Linked DNA regions of Homo sapiens: region 1 is linked to region 2. Evidence: promoter capture Hi-C in 16 types of primary human blood cells and fetal thymus (Javierre and others, 2016). All regions are on one chromosome and are shown on one strand. The core of a region is centred on a gene start or on the middle of the fragment in contact, and the rest is flanking DNA. Distances in the headings are between cores, read along the strand shown. Region 1 has its middle 97 kb from the start of LINC00976. Region 2 holds the start of CASC11 (cancer susceptibility 11).

The links. Contacts are between HindIII fragments. The CHiCAGO score rates a contact against its expected background, and 5 or more counts as called.
Region 1: a contact is called between a fragment that was not itself captured here and the fragment with the promoter of CASC11 in region 2, in 2 of 17 cell types (total CD8 T cells and megakaryocytes). The highest score is 7.7, in total CD8 T cells.

The regions. Positions count from the first base shown.
Region 1 is chr8:128,866,122-128,871,674 of GRCh38, reverse strand. No RefSeq gene overlaps it. Among named protein-coding and RNA genes, the nearest start is that of LINC00976, 97 kb to the left of the region's middle. The HindIII fragment of the contact is 173 bases long and covers 2,073-2,245 here.
Region 2 is chr8:127,731,745-127,737,891 of GRCh38, reverse strand. CASC11 (cancer susceptibility 11) reads left to right here and starts at 3,925. Exons shown (of 4, transcript NR_117102.1): 1 at 3,925-4,067. It overlaps MYC (MYC proto-oncogene, bHLH transcription factor), which reads right to left and starts at 1,661. Exons shown (of 3, transcript NM_002467.6): 1 at 1,269-1,661. The coding sequence starts at 1,298. RefSeq lists silencers at 1,756-1,945, 3,731-3,850, a cis regulatory region at 2,433-5,175 and an enhancer at 4,755-5,256. The HindIII fragment of the contact is 10,989 bases long and covers 1-4,147 here.

The DNA of each region.
Region 1 (5,553 bases), core at 910-3,409, 1.1 Mb before region 2:
TTCTCTTCTTCCTCCTTCTTTTCTTTCTCCTTCCTCTTCACAGACAAAAATGTTGGCTAATGAAAAATACTTTAAGGAGATTCTCACTTATAAGGACATAATTTCTTAAAAGAAAAATTAGTAAACAACAAAAAAATAGTTGAAAGAAAAAAACTAATCAGAGGCTTCTAAATTAAAGCAACTTCTTTTACTAACAACGACATTCATAAAATTTTTTAAAATTTTAACAGCCAGTACTGTCCTATTGTGATGAAACCTGTACATTGCTAAAGTCATTGGAAACTGTATGACTCTTTAGGTAATATTTAACAAATATTAAAAGCCAGATAGCTATTCATATCTTTTGCCCCAATGATTATGAATCTTAGAATTATTTTATTTATTTTATTCAAAAAGTCCTAATTGTGTGCCCCAGTTGAGCACTTGATCTGCAAAAACAAACAAGGCAAAAACTGTTTGAAAAAGTTTATAGTCTAGTGAGAGATTTATTTTAATAAAACAATTTAGCAAGACTGAATGGCATACGTAAGAAATTTTCACTACAGTGCTACTTCTAGGAGCAAAAACTATTATGTCTACCTAATATGCAACAATAGGAGGATAATTAAATCCATAAGTTTATTAGGTAGTAAAATATATGTTTTAAATATGATAAATGTGAACACTGCACAATGTAGATATCAGCATAAAAATATTAAGCAGGATTTTATAAATAGTATGATTTTATTCATGTAAAACATATTTGAATGGAATAAAATGGGAATATGAGAAAATGAAAACTGTGTATTTGTCATATAGTGGTAGACTTTTTTTTAAATTCAGTATTATCTTATGAGTCACAATATTACAAGGAAATCACAGTTTTTAATTTTAAAAAGTAGCAAAAAACTCAATATTTTCTGATCAATAATAATTATATGGCAAAATATACAATTGGCATGTTATATGGAAATCTGAAGCTTTCTTTTTGGCCTATAGTTTTGTCCTACCCGTGAAATAGTGTAAGTTCTTTGAGAAATTTTAGTTTTTTTAAAATTTAGTTTTATTTTTGATTTCTAAATATTGCCCTTAAAATCCATTTCTAAAATATAGGGTAAAGGCAGTTCAGGAGAATGCAGATAGAATAGAGATCAGCAACCCTGGGCAAGTCACTTCATTTCTTTATGTTTCCTCATCTGGAAAACGGGGATAATTGTGTTCACTTGATTTTAAAAGAAAGGAAGGAAGGAAGAAAAGGAGGGAGGGAAAGTGGGAAGAACAGAGGGTGGGAGGAAAATGAGTACAAAGAAAGAAGGAAAGAGGGGAAGGAGCAAGAATGAGAAGAATGGAGAAAGCCAGCCTGAAAAGGAGGCAGAAGTGGTGTGCTTCTGAATTTGAGGTACACCAAAAAAGAAGAGCTGCATCGGTCGTGGTGCAAGAGAAGGAAACTGGACACAGACGGAGCAGATGCTGCAGGCTGGGTGGCCAGTATTACACTGTAGGGAACACTTCAAAGATGCATGATCTAAATCTCTATGGTTCCTGAATTACAGGGCAGGGAAGTTCATAACGTTGTTTTTCAAAGTGGATATGCTAGTGAGAGAATTTATCATTGGAATAACATTTTACAGCGTAGAATGAATTCCTTTTCTTACAACCAGGAAACCAGTCTGAACTCCCCTCATCCGAACCCAGTGGAATGATTCCATCCTTCCTTTGAAAATCCCTTTCAATTTACTTTCTAACGTAAATTCTCCATTCAACTCAAACCCTTTAGTGTATGGTTCAAAACTTACTTTGTCTGTCATCGCACGGTGTCCTTCTCTCACTCCTACATAGCAAGAAATTCTCATCCTATCCCCGTAGCCTTCAACCACCTCCTGAACTTTTCACCATCTCAAAAAAGCCATCTTATCTGTAATCATCCCCGGAACACTGTCTGAAATGCCAACCCCTGACTCGCTTCCCTTTTGGATATTCAGTGAACTCCTTCTCCTTCATCAATACCAAATTCAACCTGCATTTCCTTTGAAAAACCTTCCTTAATTCCCCAGCAATACATCCCCCTTTCTCTTCTGAGTATCCCTAAAGCTTTGTTTAATAGTTGTGCTTTTGAATAAATAAATGGAAAGACGAATGGATCAAGAAATAAAGCAAGGGAGGAAACCTATATTTGTGAGATCAGAATCTTGGCCATTTTGTTTTTGCATAGGAAACAACTTTATTAAAAGTTGTAATAAGACTATAAACATAGCAAATCCAAGCTTTTACTTCATATACTTCTTATTTGAAAGGTATGTGAACTAAAATGAGAAACAAGCATTAAATGTAACTAACTGCTCAGCAGTACATGAACCTGGAACACATCCATCTTGAAAATTCAAATCCCAAATCCATCTCTAATAGTTCTAGCTTACCATTACTTTTGGTTCTTCTTCCACTTGCATCACCAAAACACAATACCTTTAAAATTTTTGACCACCTATACTGTTGTTCAGGAAGAGTTGGGCATCTTCTTTGCTCTATGGTTATGCAACTCTCTTACTTTCAGATTTATAAACAGCAATTCAATGTGAACTTTGGATTTGAGGGCCCTAAATTTGAGTCATGGCTTCATGCCATGTTATTTGGGTGGCCTTGGGCGGAATATTTTACCTATCTACAACCTCAATTTCCTCTTTTATAAAATAGGGAAAATAACAGTACCTGCTTAATAGGGCCCCTTTCTCTTTTCCTTTTTTTTTTCTTTTAAATTTTAGAGAGCTATGTGTTCAGTGCTTTCCACATAGCAACTCATTTATCTTGGCCAACAGCCCAAGAGTTGAAAGTGGGAAAATGCTTGAGCTGTGCTTCATGCAGTGAGGAGCACATCAAGAGCTCTCCTTTGTAGATGGTCCATGCTAATTTCCATTGATTCTTCTTAATCTTAGCAAGAAATCAGTGATGGTGGAACCTTAGAGGTTTTCTAGTCTACCTCTTCATTTCAAGCATGAAAACATGGCAGAGGGATAAATGATGTTCTAGATCATAAATGATGTTCTCAGATCACAGTGTGGCTTTTCTGGTGTTGGTCCATCTCTATTTCCAATACACATTTACTTTGGTCTAAAGGCATAAAGACATAGGATGCTCTGGAAGAGTCTCCTTGGTTAAGCATGTATGTGGCCCATTAGCAAATACTTGGAACCAACCCAAATGCCCATCAATGATAGACTGGATAAAGAAAATGTGGCACATATACATCATAGAATACTATGCAGCCATAAAAAAGGATGAGTTCATGTCCTTTGCAGGGACAGGGATGAAGCTGGAAACCATCATTCTTAGCAAACACAAGAACAGAAAACCAAACACTGCGTGTTCTCACTCATAACTAGGAGTTGAATAATGAGAACACACGGACACAGGGAGAGGAACATCACAAACTGGAACCTGTTGGGGGTGAGGGGTTAGGGGAGGGATAGCATTAGGAAAAATACCTAATGTAGATGACTGGCTGATGGGTGCAGCAAACCACTGTGGCACGTGTATACCTATGTAACAAACCTGCAAGTTATGCACATGTACCCCAGAACTTAAAGTATATATATATATATATATATATATATATATATATATATATATATATATAAAGAATCACACAACAGAATGAGGAGATATTTGATTATGGCTATTAGGGAGTATGAACATGGCCAAACCATACTTTTGTTAAATGCTGTCTCTTCTTTAGCCTACATACATGTACCTATTAAAACATATATTCAGAATTACACCAGGCTATTAAGGCAGTGTATGTAAATGCCAAAACTAAACTGGACTCTTTGGGATAATGGGATTGACTATCTCATTATAAAAAGCCTGTAATGCTTCTTTAGGAAATTCCTGGCTTGATATTTGCAAGTTCAAATATTCTCATGTTATTTAACTTTTGCTTCTTATTTCAGTTTCACAGAACCTGGGGGTGGAGGGAGTACGGAAATCAATAGCTTCCAATCTCATGATTTTGCATTTACTGACTGCCTCTCTTGCCCACCCACATGCTATGTTTTTTCATTAAGATGGATTTTATATCACAAATATATATGGTAACAATCTCTTGCTAAAACCAACAGCCTGCTTCAGCAGTGATAAGTTTATCACAGATCATAATAGAACAATGTGAATACCTCAAGCCAGTGGGTAAATCTTGCCCCTTGTTATGCTCTGGGACAATGACTTTTACCAAGTAGAAATGTCACACCTGCCTCTATAACTTTGTGCAGTCCCCGTAATCTATGAATTATGTTACTGGTGAATTACTTTTAGGGAAAATAACTTTGGAAAGAGCATACGTTTTGAAAGTTGTTAAAAGGGAAACTGTTGATATAAATATGTACAGGAGAAGATGAACATATGGAAATTTTCATGGTGAGTTTTCCTCCAGAGTAAATGAAAAGGAATGTCAAACCACAAAGAATCTTTTCCCTGAGCTTCAGAGAATGATAGCAGAAGTCTTAAAAAGGCACTTAATGGAATCATATCTGGAAATGGTTGAATCATAAAAAGGTGTAGCATCCAATTCTCTTTTCAAAATGCCTTGGAAACTTTAGCTCTCTTTCCAAGAAAATGAATAACACTGTGGCCTCCTTTGAGGTGAGGCAAGGTTATTTTGTGAGTCATTTCTCATGTAATGGTGGGTTAAAGATGAACATTGCCTTCTTTCACCTTCCCACCCACCCAGATCATGCTCACCCTTTAGGACTTAGGCACTAGCATCGCCTCCCTGAAGGATTCTGTGCTGATCTCAGCTCCATTTGAATTCACTGTTTCCTAAAATCTAAAGTACTAGATGTTTGTAGCATACAATTCTACATTTACTTCCAAAAATACCTTGCATTGTACTTGAACCATATTCCACTAGACTACTAGCTTCCTAAATGCAGAGATTAAATTCTGCTTCCTTAGTGCCCAGTTCACTCTTGGGTTTTTTGTGGTGGCTCAATAAATATTGGCAATAATTGGCTTAACTATTGGAATAATGTATCTGTAACCTCTTCAGTCAAGGGCAGAGACTTGGTGTGCCAAACAGAAAGAACTGTCATTTATTGAGCTCCTCCTCTCTATCAGCAATTATGTCTTTTTAAAAAAAAAAAATTGGTTATGTATTTCTAATAATGACATCATCATTGTGTCCTCATTTGGCAGCTAAAGAAACCGAGGCTCAAACATGGTGAGCTGCTTGCTCAAGAGAAAATTGCTATTAAAAGCAAGGTTTATCCAGCACTAGGATTACCAACATATATGCGCAATAAATGAAATTAACCACTAAAAATATTTCCATTGTATCAGAGATAGTCTCCCCAAAAATCAATGGAAATGGCCCATAGGAAGTCTTTCCTGGTCCTTCTTTCAGGTAAAGCACGAATCTTGTCCCTTTCTGGGTGGTCAGAATCTCCCTGTTTGGCTCTTGGATTCCCCAGAAAGTTCAGGTTGCCTGGGTGGAGAGGAGTAGGGCAGCAGCAGATTCCATCTTACTCAGCCCAGTGACTTCTTTGTCTACACTAAGTCTCCCTTTCAGCTCCCAGGTAAAAAAAA
Region 2 (6,147 bases), core at 2,676-5,175:
CAATTTGCCAAAATCCAAGGCACAAAGTTTTGCGCCACCTGAAGGAGAAGGCGAGAGGCGCCTGGGCGCTAGCGGCTGCGTGAACCCCGCTCCGCGCCGGGGCCCCTCCGCTGCGGCTGTTCCCACTCGCGCCCTAGCCGCTCTCCTACCCCCGCCGGCACCGCAGCCCCTCCCAACCTTCCCTCTCCACCGCCCCCGTCCCCACCCCCAGTACCGCCCCCGTCCAACACTCCTTTTGCCAGCTTTTCTTCTTTCTCTCGCCGGCTGGAGTGGCGAGCTCAGCCGCGGGCTTTAACACCCCTCCATAAATACAAGGGGGGTGTCAAATAATAATAGGGGCACCTCCCTTCGCACTCAATACGGAGATGCAACTGCGCCAGAGACCCCGCTGCGATACCTCCCCCGGAGCCACCCCACCAAGGGTAGCAGCTGTTCTGGAACCGCCCAGAGCCCCGCTCCTCGCAGTTCCTCCGCATCTCGGGCGCGAGGACACCCGAGGGCGGCCGCGGCAGGGGAGTCAGGGCTGGGTGCGGAGATTCGCCCTGGTTTTTCCAAGTCAACGATTCCAGGAGAATCGGACACATCCTCGCCTCCCTTTTCCCCTGCCTGCGCCTACCCAACACCACGTCCTAACACCTCTAGAGACCCAGGTTTTAAATTGTATTATTGCTTTTTAAAAAGCCAAATGCCAACTTCTTAAAAGGATCAGGGCGGGTTGGAATCGCCGCGGGGACAGGCGGGCGGGACGCGCCGCAGTGTCCGTCTCCGGCTGTCAGAAATGCGGTGAGCCGAAATTTAAATGCCCTCCCGGAGACGGGGACAAGTCAGCGGCTGCGGAGCGATCTGGCTCACACAGGCGATATGCGGTCCCTACTCCAAGGAGCTCAGGATGCAAGGGGCTTTCTGCCCACCGCAAAGCAACCCCCAGCCCCCCAAAACCCAGAGAGCAATTAACACAATAAAGCAGGAATGTCCGACCGGCCGGGAGTCAGCGTGAATATATTCATAAGGCAGAAATCTCGAAAGGGTAGTCTTAAAAACCATTCCCGTTTTCCCTCTGCCTTCTCCTCTCCCATCTTGACAAGTCACTTTACCCCGATCCAGTTCTGGATTACCCCCCACCCCAGCCCCAGTTACCATAACTACTCTGAGAAAAGTGTCAATAGCGCAGGAATGGGAGAAAAGACACCCTATTTAGGCATTCGACTCATCTCAGCATTAAAGTGATAAAAAAATAAATTAAAAGGCAAGTGGACTTCGGTGCTTACCTGGTTTTCCACTACCCGAAAAAAATCCAGCGTCTAAGCAGCTGCAAGGAGAGCCTTTCAGAGAAGCGGGTCCTGGCAGCGGCGGGGAAGTGTCCCCAAATGGGCAGAATAGCCTCCCCGCGTCGGGAGAGTCGCGTCCTTGCTCGGGTGTTGTAAGTTCCAGTGCAAAGTGCCCGCCCGCTGCTATGGGCAAAGTTTCGTGGATGCGGCAAGGGTTGCGGACCGCTGGCTGGGGGATCAGCGGGAGGGCTGGGCCAGAGGCGAAGCCCCCTATTCGCTCCGGATCTCCCTTCCCAGGACGCCCGCAGCGCAGCTCTGCTCGCCCGGCTCTTCCACCCTAGCCGGCCGCCCGCTCGCTCCCTCTGCCTCTCGCTGGAATTACTACAGCGAGTTAGATAAAGCCCCGAAAACCGGCTTTTATACTCAGCGCGATCCCTCCCTCCGTTCTTTTTCCCGCCAAGCCTCTGAGAAGCCCTGCCCTTCTCGAGGCAGGAGGGGAGCCAGGGACGGCCGGGGCCCGGCGGTGGCGGCCGCGAGCAGCACAGCTCGGGGGTCCTCAGCCGTCCAGACCCTCGCATTATAAAGGGCCGGTGGGCGGAGATTAGCGAGAGAGGATCTTTTTTCTTTTCCCCCACGCCCTCTGCTTTGGGAACCCGGGAGGGGCGCTTATGGGGAGGGTGGGGAGGGTGGGGAAGGTGGGGAGGAGACTCAGCCGGGCAGCCGAGCACTCTAGCTCTAGGATGTAAACAGAGTAAGAGAGCCGCATGAATTAACTACGCGCGCCTACCATTTTCTTTTGCTCCCTCTCAAACCCTCTCCCTTTCTCTGCTGCTCCTCCGTAGCAGTACTGTTTGACAAACCGCATCCTTGTCCTGTGAGTATAAATCATCGCAGGCGGAACAGCTGCCCTCCACACCGAGAACGCACTGCGCGCCCACCGCCACGCCACGCGCGTACCAGGCTGCAGGGCGCCTCGCTAAGGCTGGGGAAAGGGCCGCGCTTTGATCAAGAGTCCCAGGGAGAGTGGAGGAAAGAAGGGTATTAATGGGCGCGCGTTCAGAGCGTGGGATGTTAGTGTAGATAGGGAGGAATGATAGAGGCATAAGGAGGAAAACGATGCCTAGAATGATTAAAATAACCCAGCAACGCATTGCCACGTATACTTGGAGAGCGCGTTATGAATAAACTCCCATTGCATTTGTTGGGGGGAGTCATGTATTATGCATTATGTATGCACAGCTATCTGGATTGGATACCTTCCACCCAGACTGAGTCCCCCAATTTGCTGCCAAAGCAGCAGATACCGCCCCTCCTGCCCCGCCTGCTCAGGCTTCCGTGGGGCCCCGTGCGGGAGGCGTCTGTTTAGCCCTGAGATGTGTCTGCCTGTTCCAGAGCTGGGCTAGGGCGAGAGGGAGGTTGCCTGCTCTCTGCCAGTCTGTACCCCACCGTCCCACCCCCACGCCTCCCACACGGAGTTCCCAATTTCTCAGCCAGGTTTCAGAAGAGACAAATCCCCTTTGCGCCCTGTGGCGCCGGTTTGCAACAGTCTCGGGCTGCCGGGTTTGGGAGAAATCAAAGGTGCTAGACGGGAGAATATGGGAGGGGCAGGGGGTACCCGAACCGCGGGACCGGACTTCCTAAAAGGGGCAAGTGGAGAGCTTGTGGACCGAGCCGGGGGAGTCAGCAGAGACCCTTGTGAAAAAAACCGTTAACTCTTTCCTCCCCGGACAAACCGGACGTTTAATTCCTTTCCAGGTCCTCTTTCCCCTTTTATTATTGGAAATGCGGTCATGCACAAAAAATGCATCGATTCTGATCAAAGAAGAGGAGAGGAGTATTACTTCCGTGCCTTTTTTTGGGGGGGGGGGAGTCTTGAGCTAATTAAAATTTGGCTGCCTTCCAGGCATTAATTTCCTAGTTCACTGACTCACAATTTTTTCTGAATACTAGTGAAAGTGCACTGTATGTAACCCGCAAACGTGTATTCACATTTTATTTACGCTTCGACTTAGCTAGTTGCCCAGCCCCACACATGATTTGTTTGCTCCCTGAAATGATCTATATTTAATATATAATGTATATTCCCTCGGGATTTTTTATTTTGTGTTATTCCACGGCATGAAAAACAAAAAACATTCTTCTCATCCTTGGTCCCTCACCCAAAGGCATTTTAAGTAAACTTTTCTCTCCCTCCACCACCTCCAAAAGAGAAAACAATTCGGGGGAAAGGGGTGCGTGTATAGCATGTACGCTGTTCAAGATGGGTTATTACCCGTTGAGTTTGCAGCTCAGCGTTCAAGTGTTAAGTGAATATAGTAGCTTCCAAATCCGATGCACTGCACAATTCAGCTTTAAGGATTGCAAATTACTCCTGCCTCCAGGCCTTTGCCGCAAACGCGGGGAGCAACCAATCGCTATGCTGGATTTTGCTGCAAAGCGTCTTTCCCTCCGCCCCCTCTCTGGGCAGCACCCGCGTTCAGGTTTGCGAAAGTAAAGTAAGTGTGCCCTCTACTGGCAGCAGAGATCATCGCGCCTGGATGTCAACGAGGGCGGGGGTCAGGTGGGGGCAGGAGCAGGAGCGTCCGAGGTGCAAGGTTTCCAGCGGGGGAAGGACAGGCGGTTCCTTAAAACAAGTTTCCAGCCACCTCCTTGTTATTCTTTCAGGTTGGCTGCAGAAGGTCCGAAGAAAGAGGAGTTACTGGAGGAAAAAGTGGTTCAGAGGTGACTATTCAACCGCATAAGAGATGGTGAAAATTAACCTATCACCACTGCTAATGAACATCACCCTATGGAGAACCGGTAATGGCAAACGTGAAATAATTCACAAGTACATAGACGAAAAAAAAATTCCAACAAACCCTAAAACGGCCAAACAAGCTTTAGCCCCCACGTCTTAGAAACTCATCATCTTTTTTAACCACAAAATTTGAAAGCAAGACACTGGATTTATTGGGGAAAGGGGAGGCACAGCAGAAGGTGATGGGTATTTGGTTTGGCCTATTATTATTAATTATTATTCTTATTATTTTTGAGACAGGGTCTCCTTCTGTCACCCAGGCTGGAGTGCAGTGGCACAATCAAAGCTCACTGCAGCCTCGATCCCCCCGGGCTCAAAGCAAACCTCCTACCTCAGCCTGATACCCCAGCCCAGTAGCTGGGAGTGCAGTGCACCACCACACCCGGTTAATTTTTTAAACTTTTTGTAGAGAGGCAGTCTGGTCATGTTGCCCAGGCTGGTCTCAAACTCCTCGGTTAAAGCGATCCTTCGGCCTTTGCCTCTGAAACTGCTGGGAATACAAGTGCGAGTCATCGCTCCTGGCCTTGGCTTATTATTTTTACTTTTAAAATATTGGGCTGGTGAATAATAAGTGATTTTTTTTAATAGCAAGAAGGGGTATTTGAGATCTCATAGAAAAAAAGTGTGAAGGAATAGGAGCATTTTATTAAAGGTTTTAATACTAAAATGAGTATGCAATAAGGTTGAAGTAAATGTGAAGGAAATTTACCTGGCACGTGTCCCTGGTCAAGTAGGTTTTTACGGGGCAAAGAATCCCTGACGGTGTCTGATCACTTAGATGCCCTAAGGACTTCTGGCAGTGGAGGTTCCTTCCCGCAGGAGCCTTGTAGGCTGATTTCCCAGGAATCTGGCACTTTTGGCATTACTCTAATTGAAGCTAAATGAGTGCTCTCCACAGGGGCATGCACTCCCCGCCCCTCAAAGAAAACCCTCAACAACAAACAAACAACAATGGCAAAACCAAAAGTAGGTCCAGCTTGACCTCATAGGGTAGTTTTTGAAAGTTGCTAAAGATGGCGGATATACCACATCTTCGGATCTGACTCTCAAATTATGCCAGTCCAGTGTAGGGCATGTGAACCCCAGGCAGATATAATGCCTGTGGGTTCAGAACTTAACCTCACTCTCCCTCAGGCTGGTGACATCACCTGAGGTGTTACTTTCAAGTAACAGCTTGGAGTTGTTTTGTGCCATCTCCATTTTTACATGAGAGAAAACAAAGCCAGACCTCAGCCAGGTTAAAGGACATAACTGATTTTCTTTTAGTAATTTTTGAGACATATTTGACCTAGAATAGACATTTGCTGGGTTGAAAAATGGCTGAGATTACAACTAGTATCATGTATAACTACCAAAGTGATACGTGTCCATTGGAAAAATCCATTGAGAAATAGAAAAAGAAAGGAAAAGGCCGTGTGTGGTGGCTTATGCTTGTAGTCCCAGCACTTTGGGAGGCTCAAGTGGGAGCATCGTTTGAGGCCAGGAGTTCGACAACAGCCTGGGCAATGTGGTGACGTGCCATCTCTAAAAAAAAAAAAAGAAAAAAAAAAAAAGAAAAGAAGAAGAAGAAAGAAAGAAAAGAAAAGAGAGTTTTTTCTTCTTTAATTTTTTTTTTAAGACAGGGTCTCACCCTGTAGTCTAGGCTGGAAGGCAGTGGAATAATCATGACTCACTGCAGCCTCGACCTCCCTGGACTCAGGTGATCCTCCTACCTGAGCCTCCTGAGTAGTTGGGTCTACAGGCACAAACCCCACGCTTGGCTAATTTTTGAATTTTTTTTTTTGTAGAGATGGGGGTCTCACTATGTTGCCCAGGCTGGTCTCAAACTCCTAGACTCTGGTGATTCTCCTGCCTCAGCCTAAGTGATTCTCCTGCCTCAGCCTTCCAAAGTTCTGGGATTACAAAGGCATTAGCCACCATACCCAGCCTCCTCTCCTTCTTCTTCTTCTTCTTCTTCTTTTTTGTTTTTTAATAGAGGTACATTTTTGGTAGAGATGAGGTCTCACTGTGTTGCTCAGGCTTGGTCTCCAGCTCCTGGCCTCAAGCAATCCTCCGGCCTGAAGCAATTGTCCTGCCTCAGCC